Linked DNA regions of Homo sapiens: region 1 is linked to region 2. Evidence: promoter capture Hi-C in human tissues and cell types (Jung and others, 2019). All regions are on one chromosome and are shown on one strand. The core of a region is centred on a gene start or on the middle of the fragment in contact, and the rest is flanking DNA. Distances in the headings are between cores, read along the strand shown.

Evidence for each region. Contacts are between HindIII fragments. The study calls those that stand out against the background at their distance.
Region 1: a contact is called between a fragment that was not itself captured here and the fragment with the promoter of HCAR3 in region 2, in 2 of the 25 tissues and cell types used here (IMR-90 fibroblasts and mesenchymal stem cells).

The regions. Positions count from the first base shown.
Region 1 is chr12:122,574,448-122,578,973 of GRCh38, forward strand. It overlaps KNTC1 (kinetochore associated 1), which reads left to right. Exons shown (of 64, transcript NM_014708.6): 28 at 1,096-1,199; 29 at 1,353-1,452; 30 at 2,448-2,582; 31 at 3,225-3,344. Among named protein-coding and RNA genes, the nearest start is that of KNTC1, 49 kb to the left of the region's middle. The HindIII fragment of the contact is 4,952 bases long and covers 751-4,526 here.
Region 2 is chr12:122,714,081-122,718,791 of GRCh38, forward strand. It overlaps HCAR3 (hydroxycarboxylic acid receptor 3), which reads right to left and starts at 2,731. Exons shown (of 1, transcript NM_006018.3): 1 at 676-2,731. The coding sequence starts at 2,657. The coding sequence ends at 1,494. The HindIII fragment of the contact is 11,637 bases long and covers 1-4,711 here.

The DNA of each region.
Region 1 (4,526 bases), core at 1,977-4,476, 140 kb before region 2:
TTCATAAAAGCGACATATATTTGTTTTTGTTTGAGATGGGTCTGGCTGTGTCGCCCAGGCTGGAATGCAGTGACATGATCATGGTTCACTGCAGCCTCAATCTCCCTGGCTCAAGCAATCCCCACCTCAGCCTCCTGAGTAGTTAGGACCATAGGCGTGTGCCACTACGCCCAGCTAATTTTTGTATTTTTTGTAGAGACAGGGTTTCCCAGGCTGGTCTTGAACACCTGGGCTCAAGTGATCTGCCTGCTTCATTCTCCTAAAGTGTCTGTTTTCTTTAATTACAGAAAATAAAAAGTGAATGTTTACTCATTTCCACCCCCAGGGGAACCTCCATGGACAGTTGTATGCATATCTTTGCAGGCTTTTCTGTGGTTATGCAAACATGGAGACTTTTCTTTTTCAGTTATTCGCTGCAATGTGAGACATTTGTTAATATATTGTAATATGCCTTTATTTTAACTTCACACTGTTATTGCCACTATAAAATAGAAATAAAATAATGAAAACTGTTTTTAAACCAGAGACTGAGGCTGGACACAGTGGCTCATGCCTGTAATCCCAGCACTTTTGGAAGCCAAGGCAGACAGATCACCTGAGCTCAGGAATTTGAGACCTGCCTGGGCAACATGGTGGAACCGCATCTCTACAGAAAATACAAAAATTAGCCAGGTGTGGTGGTGCTTGCCTGTAGTCCAAGCTACTTGGGAGCCTGAGGTGGGAGAATCGCTTGAACCCAGGAGGTGGAGGTTGCAGTGAGCTGAGATCGCGCCACTGCACTCCAGCCTGGGCAATGGGAACATGACCCTGCCTCAAAAAAACAAAAAAAACCCAGGGATTGTAGAGACCGTAGAAAGCAATAACGCTGTATGTCTTAGCTTACAGCAGAAAAAATACTCTTCTGAATTTTTCTGAATAGTCAAATTGTTCTCTATATGTGAAAACTGAAGAAATAAATGGTTTTCCAGTGAGTGGATGAAATATTCTCAAACTACCATGTGGTTGATGTAAGACCTGCTGATTAGACTGTGCTGTTCACTTGCATGCATCGTAAACCTGAGGGCTGTTCCTTGTCCATGCGTGCATCTTTTGTAGCTCATATTTGATGCCGTGCTCAAGATCATGTATGCGGCAGTGGTTCCTTGGAGTGCAGCTGTGGAGCAACTGGTGAAACAGCACCTGGAAATGGACCATCCCAAGTAAGATGACTGTCTACGAAACAATGTTGTTATGCTCTGGAGAAACATTGTGTTTTGAGTTGACGTTCATTTATGTTTCTATATTGTTTGCTGTGTCCCATAGTACTTCATAAAAAAGACAATCCATGTTAATATGGGTAAATTTGCTTTCAGAGTCAAGTTATTACAGGAAAGTTACAAACTAATGGAGATGAAAAAACTTTTACGAGGCTATGGAATAAGAGAGGTAAATCTCTTAAACAAGGAAATAATGGTAAGTACACTCTTCGAAGAGTCTTTTTTCTCTTTCATTTCTGGGGCAATATGGAAAGCTTAATGAGGAATTTATATTCTAGGAGGCTAATAGAGCTAGGTTTTTCCACTACATTTCTTTTGTTAGATATGATGTTAATAAGGTGTTCAGTTATTTATGAGAGTATTTATTCTTTTTGACATGGAGTTTCGCTCTTGCCGCCCAGGCTGGAGTGCAATGGCGCGATCTCGGCTCACCACAACCTCCGCCTTCTGGGTTCAAGTGATTTTCCTGCCTCAGCCTCCTGAGTAGCTGGGATTACAGGCATGCACTACCACGCTTGGCTAATTTTTTTTTTGTATTTTTAGTAGAGATGGGGTTTCTCCATGTTGGTCAGGCTGGTTGGTCTTGAGCTCCCGACCTCAGGTGATCTGCCTGCCTCGGCCTCCCATAGTGTTGGGATTACAGGCGTGAGCTACCGCTCCTGGGCTTTTTATGAGAGTATTAAAGACACCAAATAGGCCAGGTGCGGTGGCTCACACCCGTAATCCCAGCACTTTGGGAGGCCAAGGTGGGTGGATCATGAGGTCAAGAGATCAAGACCATTCTGGCCAACATGGTAAAACTCCGTCTCTGCTAAAAATGCAAAAAAATTAGCAGGGTGTGGTGGCATGTGCCTGTAGTCCCAGCTACTTGGGAGGCTGAGGGAGGAGAATCACTTGAACCTGGGAGGCAGAGGTTGCAGTGAGCCGAGATTGCGCCACTGCACTGTAGCCTGGCGACAGAGGGAGACTCTGTCTCAAAAAAAAGACACCAAATAGTAAATTAAGAAGCTGTAGAAGAAAGAAGACAGGACTGTGGAATGATCAGAATATAAATCATGTTTTAATCTTTCATACAATTTAGTTTTTTGCTGCATTATTTAAATTTTTTTGCCACTTTGCTCTTATAAGCAAGTGATTTCTTGGTTTTCTGTGAGTTCTATAACAAAGAAATGTTCATATTGTCTTTTGCAGAGAGTGGTTAGATACATTCTCAAACAAGATGTCCCATCTTCTTTAGAAGATGCTTTAAAGGTAGCCCAAGCGTTTATGTTATCTGATGATGAGATCTACAGTCTAAGAATTATTGACCTGATTGATAGAGAACAGGTTTGTAAGTTTTATGTTGTCATTTCATATGGCTTCTTTGTTTCTGTGTTGTTGTTGTTGTTTTTTGAGACAGGGTCTCGCTCCATTGCCCAGGCTGGAGTGCAGTGGCTGTGTTTCACCATGTTGGTCACGCTGGTCTCAAACTCTCAACCTGAAGTAATCCACCTGCCTTAGCCTCCCAAAGTGCTGAGATTACTGGTGTGAGCTACCATGCTTGGCCTGTTGTGTTTTTAAATGTCATTATTTTTATATGATTCTATAATCATAGCAATGCCTAGGAATTAACTCTTCAGTATCTAGGATCGTATTTTAAATTTATTTTATTGTTTGCTGTCATCAAAAATGGATTTTCAGCATCAGGATGGATAGCTGATGCATGCAGGGCTTAAAATGTGCATGACAGGTTGATGGGTACAGCAAACCACCATGGCACATGTAACAAGCCTGCACTTCCTGCACATGTACCCTGAAACTTAAAGTAAAATAAAATAAAAATGGATTTTCGGATTATTAAAACATTGAACCATAATCTGTTTTTCCAAATGATGTATTTTCATCTTTAAATAGAAAAGAAAGAGGTAAGGCCACACCGTCCTTTGCAAATACCAGCTGTTTTTTCTTCCTTTCAAACCCTGTTTATAGGGTGAAGACTGTCTCCTTCTGTTGAAGTCTTTGCCTCCTGCTGAAGCTGAGAAAACTGCAGAAAGAGTCATCATATGGGCACGACTGGCATTACAAGAAGAGCCAGATCATTCTAAAGAGGTGACATTTTCACTAAGTAAAATATAAGTAAATCCAATTTTTATGGCTATTAATCAATAGGATAGAAAAGATGGACTTACACATATGAAGATCTGCTCTTCTCACTGCTAGGGTGGCCTAGTGAAAAAATTCCTGGGTAAATTTACTACTAGGAGAAAAAAAACAATTGTGGCTGCCTTGGAGCGGCTGCTTGAGCCCACAGAGAATGACCTGGGAGCTGTGGGTTAGCAGGTGTCTTGGAGCAGCTGTTGTACACGAAAGGTTTCTATAAAGCGTTGCAATATAAACAATGTTTTGTGTTATATAGGACATAATTATTGTCAAATAGTAATGTCAGCTACAAAACCAATATAAATCTATATAATCTTATAACATTGAAACTTAGAAATGGTTTTAAGAGAGTTTACTTTTTTGCAGATGAGGAATACTTGGTTTTTCCAGAATAGCTGGATTCTTACTGATTTTTAATTTTTTCTCTTTTTTTAAATATTATATATAGGAGATGAGGTCTTGGTATGTTGCCCAGGCTGGTCTTGAACTCCTGAGTTTAAGTTCTCTTCTAGCCTTAGCCTCCCAAGTAGCTGGGATTACAGGCATGCACCACCATGCTCAATAGTTGGGTTTTTTTTTTCTTTTCTTTTCTTTTTTGAGACAAGAGTCTTGCTCTGTTGCTCAGGCTGGAGCACAGTGGCGCGATCTTAACTCACTGCAACCTCTGCCTCTCAGGTTGAAGCGATTCTCCTGCCTCAGCTGGGAGTAGCTGGGATTACAGGCGTCCGCCACCACACCTGGCTAATTTATGTATTTTTACTAGAGACGGGTTTCACCATGTTGGCCAGGCTGGTCTCAAACTCCTGACGCCAACTGATCTGCCTGCCTCGGCCTTCCAAAGTGCTAGGATTACAGGTGTGAGCCACCACACTTGGCCAATAGTTGGATTTTTAAACCCCTAAGGATAGATACCTCCCAACTTCTCTCAGTCCATTTCAGTAATGTTTTTTGCTGTTGGAAAATGAAGTTATTGTTGTTTTTAACACCTAATATTTGCTATGCAATAGGCATTAGGTTAAATAGCTACTTCTTGTTCATAACAAAGGTGTAAAGTAGTTCCTATTGTTGTCTCCTTATGTATTAAGTTCAAAAACCAAAATATGAAAGTAAATGACTTTTTTCCAAGGTTGT
Region 2 (4,711 bases), core at 1,481-3,980:
GCTCGCTCTTCCCCCTCCTATGGAAAAATATCTGCCTGGCTTGATTCCCTTTTTATATTATTTATTATTATTATTTGAGATGAAGTCTTGCTCTGTCCCCCAGGCTGGAGTGCAGGCACACCACCTCGGCTCACTGCAACCTCCGCCTCCCGGGTTCAAGCAATTCTTCTTCTCCCAGCCTTCCCAGTAGCTGGGACTACAAGCGGCCGCCACCATGCCTGGCTAATTTTTCTTGTATTTTTAGTAGAAGTGGGGTTTCACCATTTTGTCCAGGCTGGTCTCAAACTCCTTACTTCAGGTGATCTGCCCGCCTTGGCTCCCCCAAAGTGCTGGGATTACAGGCATGAACCATTGCACCTGGCCTTGATTCCCTTTTTAATGCACAAATATGAAGAGCAATATTCACCAAACTCTAATAAAATGTAAGTGCTCTTGCAATCCTATCTGTACTATCCTTCCAAATTATTTTTAATCCCAGCTCTTTCTATCTTTGTTTAGACACAGGTGTAATTTCTGCTTAGTTGTTTCATGATGTAGCTCAGTGTCTGTGTCTCTTTCTTACTTTGCAGTGTGGAGTAGTTTTCTACCAGGACAAAGTTAACAACCCATAAAGGTCTCTGCTTAAGTAAGAAGTCCATTTCTGTGAACCATAACCCAGATATAGCAACGCCAGACTGTCTCCTATCAAAATTTATTGAAATGGTAGATTTTTGGTAAGTACAGAAACACAAGCGAAGGAACCAGGAGGAACGTGCACCCCTCTACCCGTGGGGCAGAGGCACGTTTCCCTTTTAATGGTAAAAGCAAACAGGTGGGAAACAGCTTTCTATCCTGAAGCCGTTTTAACTGTTCAACCCTTAGATTACTATAAACAAGAGAGGAATGGATTGCATTAGTCGCTGGTTGAAAGCAGCAATGCCATTTCCTTTCCCATAATAACACTGTTTAGCTCAGTCCCTTCTGGGGCTAATCCCCTATTACACCCACCGGAAACACAGATACTAACCAAAGCATGTGAGTCTCTTCCCTGAGTCCATTTCTGCTAAAGATTGTCTGAAAGATGAATTGGTCCACGGAAGCCAGGTGACCTACTGGCTTGTTTAATGATGCCTGGGCTTCCTCCAGGAACAACACAATTCCCTCCAATCTCAGCTCTCCTTATCCCTGCTAGAGCTCACAAGCAGGCTAGATATCACCCCAGGAGCTGAGCCCCCTCCAGTCTGAGGCAGATGTGGGAAGAAGGCCAACAAGTCACAAGTAGATCTCTGGCTCCAACTCTGCTCAGCAGAAACGCCTACAATTTGCCCATCTTCAGTCCTGCGAGCGTCAGAGATGAAGCAAGTTTCAGATGCCTAGAAGCTTTACTCTCTGTTCCTCCAGGATTCCTGCGGTCACACCTTGCAACCAGTCTCCCACTCATCTGCCACAGTTTCCCTAAATCAGATTCTCTGAATCTGGAAGTTCCAGGAAATCTTAGGCCGAGTCCAGTGACATTACTCGATGCAACAGCCCAACTGTTTCTCCAGAGATGCTGGTTCTTGGTGACAATGTCCCTTCTTGGAATGGTTATTTGAGGTTGGGCCCAGATAAGAGGGGCTCCATGGCTCACCGGAGTTGGCGATTAACGCCTCTGGAGCGCCTCTGGTTTTGTTGGGGTCCCCTGTGAGCTCGACGCTCGTGCTGCGGTTATTATCTGGCTCACCTGTTATCTTCCTCTGGAGGCAGCGGTTGATCAAAGTGGAGAAGAAGTTGGGAAAGGATGGGCTGGAGAAGTAGTACACCACGGGGTCCAGCATGCTGTTCATGTAGGTGAAGCTGAGAGTGATAAAGAACGCCAGGTCCACCGAGCGGTACACTTCACAATTCTGCGTGCCCGAAGTGTGCAGGAGCCAGAAGATGTGGATCCGCACAACCACGCTGGGAAGGAAGCAGATGACAAAGACGATGGCCACCACCATGATGAAGGTGATGGCTCTCTTGATCTTGGCATGCCGGTCCATTTGTCTCTGCCGCAGGCTCCAGATAATTCTGGCTGAGCAGAACAGGATGATGCCCAGGGGCAGGAAGAACTCCAGGAGGAACATAGCTTCGTGCCACCGGAAGGTATGGCAGATGCTGAAGCTGATGCACACATTTGCAGTGCCATTCTGGATCAGCAACTTCTTCTTCAGGAGGTGGACTGTTAGGCCAACAGTGATGCCCCACAGAAGGCAAGAGATGATGGCTGCTGTCCAATTGGAGATCTTGTTCAGGGCGTGGTGGGGATGGACCACCCGGAAATACCTGTCTACCGCCACCACCGTGAGGAATATGATGCTGCCCTGGCGGTTCATGGCAAACATGAAGAGCACCAGCCGGCAAGGGATGTCCCCAAACTTCCAGTCTGAACGCCGCACATAGTAGTCCATCACGAACGGCAGGCAGATGATCAGTAGAAAGTCAGCTACTGCCAGGTTGAACAGGAAAATCCGGCTGGATTTCCAGGACTTGAGGTGGAAACAGAAAATCCACAGGGCAAGGCCATTGCCCAGAAGCCCAAAGATAAACTCCAGCCCCAACACCGGCGGCAACACCTTGGCAATGAAGTCATCTCGGAACACACAGCAGTTCTTCTTGTCTATTTCCAGAAAGTGATCCTGCAGATGGTGCCGATTCATGAGTGCAGCTAGTGAGTCCGATGGAGCGCCTCGCCTAGTGAATGCTCCAGCAAAGTGGCGTGTGTCTGTATGGTGAACGTGTGGTTCCGTGCCTGCCTTTATGTCATGTCAGGGTGTTGAAATAGATGACTGAATGGTTATCAGGAAACTACGAAATCTCTAAAAAAAAAAAAAAAAAAGCCAGCAAGGCTCTTATGCAACCTGCTGTTTGCATAAACAAATAATAAAAATCCCCTGGGCATACAGGAACCCACCAAATGTCTTAAATGTAAAGGATAAGTTTAGGCAAGCTGACTGTCATTCGAAAATCAGTGAAACATGAAGGACATCCCTTTGGAAGGCTGGGTGCTTGTATGCCAACTGAGTACTCAACGTTGCAGAATTAATTCACCGTCATCTGCTTGGCTGACATAATTAACAAAACAACAACAATAGCAATAATAATTTTTGGTGCCAAACAGTGAGGTTTTCCAGAAACACTAAGAATTAGCATGAAAAATTAACAGGCATATGACATAAACAGTAGCAGGCATATGATTTCTTTTGGAAATGCTGAGAAGACAGTAGTTGCCTGTTTGATGAGGACAGACTGGTTGAATTTGACCACTTTTCCTATGCTACCTTTCTGTACAAACATGGAGTGCTTTTCCATATCAGAACTCTGCCATTCATCTCCAGTTAGGAAAAAAAAAAAAGCCTGCTGGAGAGTGTAATATTTCATAAGATGTTTGAAAACTTGAGCCCAGTTTCAGTGGCATGTTAAAATAAGTTGGGTTTTTTGTTTGTTTATATTAGATTTTGATATGCTTCTGTGCTCAAGTGATTTAAGTATGTGATTTCTTTTTTTTGCAAACTTTGAATTAATGAGAAAAGGATTCATGAGGCTAGTTGTAAGCTGTAGCAAATCGGGTGTACTTTGTGCTACAAATTTGTTTTTCTGTGTCGCTCTGCATGAAGAGGGGTACCTTAGGATAGAGCATGGGGTTAGTACCCCATAAGCTGTCTGTTCTAGACAGCCCAGGAAACTGGTCAGTAAGAAAGTTGGTTGCAGGTCCCTGAAACAAACAAAAAACTGGATGAGGTCTCTAACTTGTTTTATGTCCTTGGGACCTTAGGATGTGATTTTTTTTTTTTGAGACAGAGTCTCACTCTGTCACCCAGGCTGGAGAACGGTGGAACAATCTCAGCTCACTGCAACCTCCGCCTCCCAGGTTCAAGCAATTCTTCTGCCTCAGCCTCCTGAGTATCTGGGACTACAGGCGTGCGCCACCACGCCCAGCTAATTTTTTGTATTTTTAGTAAAGACGAGGTTTCACTGTGTTGGCCAGGCTGGTCTCGAACTCCTGACCTTGTGATCCACCCGCCTCGGTCTCCCAAAGTGCTGTGATTACAGGCGTGAGCCACTGCGCCTGGCCGTGATTTTTTTTTTTTAATGAACTTTATTTTTTAGGGCAGTTTTAGATTCACAGCAAAATTGAGCAGAAAGTACGGACGGTCCTGTGCACTCTGTCTCCACACACGCAAAACCTCCCCCACTAAGTATGTGATATTTTTAAAGCCCCCATTTTTGTAAAATTAAACTTAGAGTGACAGGACCTAAGAGGACATGGAACCCTGCCTTGTAGCGGGACACCATTGCACACATTGTTTCTCTGCTTGTCAGTGCGATTGGGTGTCATCCTATAGAATGTTTTCTCCCTTTAATATTTTGGTCTTATGAATTCTTCCATGCAGGAGACTTCTAAACTATGTTGCTTCTACTTTGAGTTATATAATGTAAATTTCTTCCTTTTTTTTTTTTTTTCTTTTGAGATGGAGTTTCACTCTATCGCCCAGGCTGGAGTGCAGTGGCTCACTGCAACCTCTGCCTCCTGGGTTCCAGTCATTCTCCTGCCTCAGCCTCCCAAGTAGCTGAGACTACAGGTGCCCGCCACCGTGCCTGGCTAATTTTTGTATTTTTTAATAGAGATGGATTTCACCATTTTGGCCAGGCTGGTCTTGAACTCCTGACTTCAAGTGATCCTCCCGCCTTGGCATCCCAAAGTGCTGGGCTT